Linked DNA regions of Homo sapiens: region 1 is linked to region 2. Evidence: promoter capture Hi-C in 16 types of primary human blood cells and fetal thymus (Javierre and others, 2016). All regions are on one chromosome and are shown on one strand. Each heading gives the region's core, a stretch centred on a gene start or on the middle of the fragment in contact. The rest is flanking DNA. Distances are from core to core; before and after follow the strand shown.

The links. Contacts are between HindIII fragments. The CHiCAGO score rates a contact against its expected background, and 5 or more counts as called.
Region 1: a contact is called between a fragment that was not itself captured here and the fragment with the promoter of KIF13A in region 2, in 2 of 17 cell types (neutrophils and megakaryocytes). The highest score is 6.5, in neutrophils.

Annotation. Positions count from the first base shown.
Region 1 is chr6:18,143,401-18,146,943 of GRCh38, forward strand. It overlaps TPMT (thiopurine S-methyltransferase), which reads right to left. Exons shown (of 9, transcript NM_000367.5): 4 at 196-328. Among named protein-coding and RNA genes, the nearest start is that of TPMT, 9.9 kb to the right of the region's middle. RefSeq lists an enhancer at 3,320-3,543. The HindIII fragment of the contact is 3,795 bases long and covers 1-3,543 here.
Region 2 is chr6:17,985,977-17,989,662 of GRCh38, forward strand. KIF13A (kinesin family member 13A) reads right to left here and starts at 1,659. Exons shown (of 39, transcript NM_022113.6): 1 at 1,433-1,659; 2 at 1,078-1,168. The coding sequence starts at 1,487. RefSeq lists silencers at 1,245-1,364, 1,735-2,234. The HindIII fragment of the contact is 11,131 bases long and covers 1-3,686 here.

The DNA.
Region 1 (3,543 bases), core at 608-3,107, 160 kb after region 2:
CATATGTCTATACCTATTTAGGTAGCTATCACCTATATTTTTAAGCCCTTGCTTCTTATACTATATAGTATCTACAGTGAATCTGCGTGCTAAATAGGAACCATCGGACACATGAATGGTATCCTCATAATACTCACACTGAGAAAAACTTTTGTGGGGATATGGATACAATTATTTACCCAAATCAAAACAAACCTTAAATACTTTGGTTCCAGGAATTTCGGTGATTGGTTCTTCTGAGTAAGAAAGATTCTGCTCTGTAAAAAATTCTTGTATCCCAAGTTCACTGATTTCCACACCAACTACACTGTGTCCCCGGTCTGCAAACCTGCATAAAATCATACATTTACACTTAAATTATGTTTTCAAATGACTAAATAGAGGGTTATATTAGAGTAAGCATATATTTTCTTTAATTTAGAGGAATTTATATGAATTCAGGTTCATAGGGTTTCAAAGAACATGCAGGAAAGCAGATCTATATTATTTTCAAACCTTATAAAAATTCTGAAAAACTGACTTATATGAATTCAGGAAACAATAAAAATTTGGAAAATTATATATATCTTTTTTTATGTATGAAACAGTTGGAATGTAATTATAGATATATAACAAAATACTGATTTAATACAAATTGATTTGACTAGAGGAAATGCTTTTCAATTTCTCTAAATCAGCACTGCCCATTAAAATTTTCTGCATTGATGAAAATGTCTATATCTGTCGCTGTCCAATAAAATAGGCATTAGCCACATTGGTTCCTCGTGATTGAGGAACTGAATTTTACATTTTATTTAGTTTACATTTAAATAGCCACATGTGGCTAGTAGCTACTGTACTAAAGTGAACAGGTCTAGAACATTAGCACTCATTTGTATACTAATCTTGTAGTTTCCATTTGCTTAAAATAAACACTATCCAAAAATTTGTATATTTTATCATATACAAATAGCATTGTCCTGGTAATTTTATTTATTTATTTATTTATTTTTGAGACGGAGTCTCACTTTGTTGCCCAGGCTGGATGGAGTGCAATGGCACAATCTCGGCTCACTGCAATCTCCACCTCCTGGGTTCAAGCGATTCTCCTGTCTCAGCTTCCTGAGTAGCTGGGATTACAGGTGCCTGTCACCATGCCTGGCTAATTTTTGTATTTTTAGTAGAGACGGGGTTTCACCATGTTGGCCAGGCTGGTCTCGAGCTCCCGAACTCAGGTGATCCACCTGCCTCAGCCTCCCAAAGTGCTGGGATTACAGGCGTGAGCCACCACACCCGGGCTTTTCCTGGTAATTTTGAGGAAAAGAGGAAAATTTTTTCCTCAAAAAAAATTTTTTTTTTGAGACAGAATCTCACTCTGTCAGCCAGGCTGGAGTACAGTGGCACAATCTCAGCTCACTGCAACCTCCACCTCCCGAGTTCAACCAATTCTCCTGCCTCAGCCTCCAGAGTAGCTGGGATTACAGGTGTGCCCCACCATACCCGGCTAATTTTTGTATTTTTAGTAGAGACGGGGTTTCACCGTGTTGGCCAGGCTGGTCTCGAACTCCTGACCTCAAATGATCTGCCTGCCTCAGCCTCCCAAAGTGCTGGGATTACAGTCCTGGTAAGTTTTATAATGAACAGAATTCAGTCTCAGGATCTTGGACTCAAGAGAAAACAGTACCAGTGGTACAAATATCTAGGCACAGTTATGATTTTATGTCAAGTGAAATAAAAACATAGTTCTGCTATAATGTAACAAGTGCCTTCCTAAAATCACTGCACTATGCTAAATCACGCACTAAAAATCCCCAGGCTGGTGGGGAAAGTGAGGGCACAGCATTTAAAAACTTGGTCAGTGCCACATTAAAAAACAAAAACAGGAACCTAATAATAACAGTTTTATACATGTTAAATGGTTGAGAAATAGATAAATACTACAATATGGCACTTTACGGTGAAAAAGACCTAATGCTCACTAAGGTAGCTGGGGGATGTTGGTGCATTCCATCTATTCATACCTGGTTTAGTTCAACTGGGTGCAGTTTTCTGCTTTTACCTAAGGCTTCTTATAGATGAAATCACACACAAGCAAATGTGAAATTTATTTCATGCTCAAATTTTTCCCTAATATATCAATTGAGTTAGAATTCAGTTTTGAAACAAGTATAGCAGGACTGACTGTACCTTTTATCTACAAAAGAGTACGTACTTTCAATGTGGGCAGAGCATGAACTGTTTAGTTGTAAAATGAAACATATAACTTGTCTTTCATCTTTCGTATTTCTTAGGATATCTGTAAACATACAGGGAGTTTAAAAATTCTCCCTACATTTTTTAAGTTATAAAATGTAAACAAAAACATTATTCAAATTGGCTGTATGTGTTTTTATTTCCCATTCAACAGATGGAAAAATGAAGCATAGCCTACTACAACCTGTAATAAAAACAAAATAAGACCAAGTGTGGTGGCTTATGCCTGTTATCCCAGCATGTTGGGAGGGAGGATCTCTTGAGCCCAGGAGTTCAAGGTTGCAGTGAGCTATGATCATGCCACTGCACTCCACCCTGGGTGACAGAGTGGGACTGTCTCAAAAAACCAAAAACCTAAACCTAAATATCTTAAACATTTTGTTTTAATGCTTTTTGGCCTTAGCTCATGGTCAGTTTTTCTATTCACATCTCATGTCTGTATAGACCTCAATACATAGATCAGTTACATAAATGAAAAATCATCTACTATCATAACTTCTTAACTTCTTACATGTAATTACAGTAGCTCAGTTCATATATATATATACATAAAAATAACTGTATTTACGTATATATACATATATATATATTTTTTGGAGACAGAGTCTCACTCTGTCACCTAGGCTGGAGTGCATGGGCTCATTGCAACCTCCGCCTCCTGGATTCAAGCAATTCTCCTGCTTCAGCTTCTCAGGTAGTTGGGATTACAAGCGTACGCTGCCATGCCTGGCTAATTTTTGTATTTTTAGTAGAGATGGGTTTTCACCATGTTGGCCAGGCTGGTCTCGAACTCCTGACCTCAAGTGATCCGCTCACCTAATTAAAGGTGTGAGCCACCGCACCTGGCCAGTTCTGATATTTTTTGTAATGTCTTTATTACAAATGGCTTTAGACCCCAAATATTCAACAATCACATTTAATTGGCTATTTCATACCATTTTCCTAATGTTGCCTCAGAACCTGTTTGTACTACATTGTTACCATTTATGGTGACATCACATGACAATCTGTTTATAGAGTTAATTTTTTTTGAGGGTAATTTTGAAAGTAACTATCTCTTCTGGCTCAATGAATTGGTTAAAATATATGTCATAATATAGTTTAAATATTCTCAATTTCATGACCACACTTGAATCTTAAAGTCATAGCAGCCCTCTAACAAAGGCTCTCAGCTACAGTTGATTGGTTGCTGGCTGCAAAAATTCTATCATCTCTACTTGAAAATCAACTCCCAAAAAATGCATGCATACTCTGCGTTAGTCACCGATATTTATATTCAGAATAGACCATTTTTTAGGTTATTATATTTTA
Region 2 (3,686 bases), core at 409-2,908:
TTTCCCCAAATTTGGCAAAACTGAGCTTGAACACCACACATTATAGAATGGAGGCATTGCTTCTCTAAGCAATAATGTCACAAACCCTGCTTCAGAGTCTCTCTTCAGTGAAAATCTCTGAAGAAGGAAATTCACTAAATTGTATTCCATCGATCAACAGGTGATTCGTGGAAACACAAACTCATATTCATTTCCAATGAAAATTAATATTGTAAACTCTCCCGTTTTTTCACATATATATATTTACAAGCTACTGCATTATTATATTGAATGAATTCCAACCGATTTCTTCTCAGAGGCTTACTAGAAAAATGCCAAATATTCAAATTATTTTGGGGCGTTAACCCATACTGTTGCATGGAACAGAACGGAATTAATAAGGATCCAACAGTTACCACTTTTCAAATGCAAATATGTTGCCATCTAGTAAATACAGCCCCTTTTTAAACATCCCTCAGTGTCTATACAGTTCAGGGCCCTACTTTTGTTTCTTTGAAAATCAAAATTCGCGCATTACATTGAGGCATTATCTCAACTCAGCAACAACAACTAAAATAGATACTAACTAGTCCAGCCTGAGTCTACATCGTACAAGACTTTTGCTTTATTTTTTCCTCCCATTTTAGACACACTGTCCCTAAACAATTCTGCCAAAGGAAACAAACCCTGCAGTGATGAAAAGAATCACGGACACTGGGTTCCACGAACAATAAGGTCGTGGGCTGGTCACCTGCCCGCCTCGGGCCTCAGTTTTCCTGTCTGTAAAATGTGGCCGCTGGACGAATCACCTATGGGGTCCCATCCGGCCCTCTCCCTCCCGGGTGCCTCGCAGCCCGCCCGGGCTCAGCTGACTGGTGCTGTGGCCAGGGTGCCCTGCCTGCCGCCGCTCTAGATGGAGGAGAAGGGGGGCGAGGGAGGAGAGGAACTTGGACTTGCAACAGCTTCAAACAGGAGCCGGCGACAAACTTGAAGCCGTCCTCCTAACAATAGGAAAGAGCACTCCCATTTTCCTGGCTCAAACTTGCGGGACCCCGCGAGGCTGGATCCTCCCAGCCGCCCTCTCGGAACCCGCTTTACCTTTCTCCCTGTTTGGTGTTAGAAGGAGGAGGGTGCAGGACCGTTTGATTCCCTTCCATCTCCACCACGCACTTGGTGTTCAGTTCCAGTTCTGAAAGCAGAGAGAAAGGGACGTTGCAAAGTCCAGCATCCGCGCCTCCAGCCCGCCCGCCCGCCAGCCGCGCCGAGCGGGGCTCCGTCCCTGGAGGCGGCCGAGCCTGGAGACGGCGCCCCGGGCACCACGGCCAGCGCGGACGCCGCCTCCGCCCCGGCCCCCCGGCCCCGGCCGCGCTCTCGCCGTCCCGGCCCCGCAGTTTCTAAAGTTGCCCCCGCCCTCAGCCCGAGCAGAAATAAAAAAGAGCGGAAAGCTCCTCACCTCGTCGGTTCATGGGCCGGACCCGGACGGCAACTTTTACCTTGGTATCCGACATGTTGGCTGCGCTCGCCCGGCCGCTCGCCGCGCCCGCTCGGCCTTAGGCGGCCCCTCACGCGCGGCGCCGCCGCCGCTGCAGCCGCGCGCCCCTCGAGCGCGGCCGCCGCCGCTCCGCCGTGAGCTCCGAGAGGCAGCGCCGAGGCGCGCGGGCCATCCCGGGGGAGCGCGACGCGGGGCACGGCCGCGGCCCGGGGAGGGGCGGGCGCGCGGGGCGGGGCGCGGCGGCGGCGGCGGCGGCGGCGGGCGGGGAGGAGGCCTCGCCGGCGGGCCCAGGCGCAGCTCTAGCCGCGCCGCCCCAGCCGAGACCGCAGCGCCGCGGCCCCTCGCGGCTGCCCGGGGCCCCGCGCCGCCATGTTCCGCGCCCGTCACCCGCCGGGGCTCGGGAGAGGCCGGACACGGCCACGCGCGGCGCCCCCTGGAGCGGCGGGACGGCAGTGAGAGGAGCGGCGAGCAGCGCGGCGCTTAGGGGAGGCTGGAGTCCGGGGCGGGACGCATTGTTTCCCCAGGGGACCTCCCAGGCCAAGCCTGCACCGGCGCCCGCGGGGCCCCCCCCCGGACACCGCCGTGAGCTCGAGCCGCCTTCTGGGGCCGCTGCCACCCGGAGCCCCGGGACGGCAGCAAGGACCACGGCTCGCCGCGCTGGGTGCGCAGGCCTTCCCCTCCGAGTCCCGGCACGCCGCCCCCTCTGTCCCACACGGAGCCTGCAGCGGTATTTTAAGATCTCTGTGGTGAACCGAGACTAGAAATGAATCTGTGAATCCACCACCGAAACAGTGTATGTTTGTAAATAGTGCTCTCCCTTCCTTTCCCGGCCTCTCTTGTCTCGGGAGGGATGTCAAGTGGGCTGGGAGGGCCATTAACTCTTACATAAGAATTTAATAGCAATGGATTCTGTCATCCTGCCAAATGCAGACCTCGCTGCCAGGGCGGAACTGGGCGAATCCGATTTATTCTGTTTGGTTCAACAAGTGCTTAAGGGGCGCTCACCGAGTGCCAGGCATTTTGAAGCGTACAGAAGTCAAAAATCCAGAGTTTAGATCCAGGAATCTTTCGATTTTGCTTAAATCTAGAAATCCACTTATTGGAAGATGCATTGAGGTTTTACTGTGTGCAGGGTGCTGTTGAGGACACACAGAAACATGAATAGCATGATGCAGAGGCACACGCTAAGGTGGAAGAGAGGGCGTGGAGACTTATTATGCTAGACAGTGTACGGCAGGTGCTAGGAGAGGGGTCCGTCCGCCTCCAACCGAGGTGATGCTACGCTTGACCCTCGAACAACACGGGTTTGAACTGCACGAGTCCACTTACACGTGGCTTTTTTTCAACCAAAATCTGATTGAAAATACAGTATTCGTGCTCTGGCACAGTGCCTTACGCCTGTAATCCCAACACTTTGGGAGGCCGAGGCGGGAGGATCACTTGAGGCCAGGAGTTCGAGACCAGCCTGGGCAATGTAAAGAAACCCCATCTTGCCAAACATAAAAATTTAAAAAATAGCCGGGCATGGTGGCAGGTGCCTGTAGTCTTAGTTACTGGAGAGGCTGAGGTGGGAGGATCACTTGAGCCTGGAAGGTTGAGGCTGCAGTGAGCCATGTTCGCACCACTGCACTCCAGCCTAGGCAACAAAGCAAGACCCTGTCTCAAAAAAAAAAAGGGAGAAAAAAGAAAAGACAGTATTTGGCAGGTTCAAAACTGAGAGATCCAACTTTTCCTATTTGTGGGTTCTGCAGAGCTGACTGTGGGACTTGAGTATGCATGGTTTTGGATGTTCCTGGAACCAGTCCCCTGTGTACACTGAAGGACAAATACTTCAGCCCCACCTTATTGTAGAGCCAGCTATCTCAGTCTACCTCTGAAGGGCCTGTTGCATCTTTCCTCCTCTCCATTCCTGCTGCTGCAATCTCACTTTACCTGTCCATTCACTTGTTCAACAAATGTGTTCTGAGCGCCCTACTATGTTACAAACACTGTTGTAGGCTTTAGGCTACAGGCTCTCAGCTGCTGCTCAGAAAGAGGTGAAATTTCCAGCCCTCTGAGGCTAAGAATCTAGGTCTGTGCTTACCTCTTCACTTTTGGGCTGCTGAGACATCCTGTTAACCCTCCTAGCTTTGCCTCCTCTAATCACTCCTAAATCCAGCTTCCAGACTGATTTTTCACAAAATTAAAATTTTATCCTTTAATCGTGCATGGTATT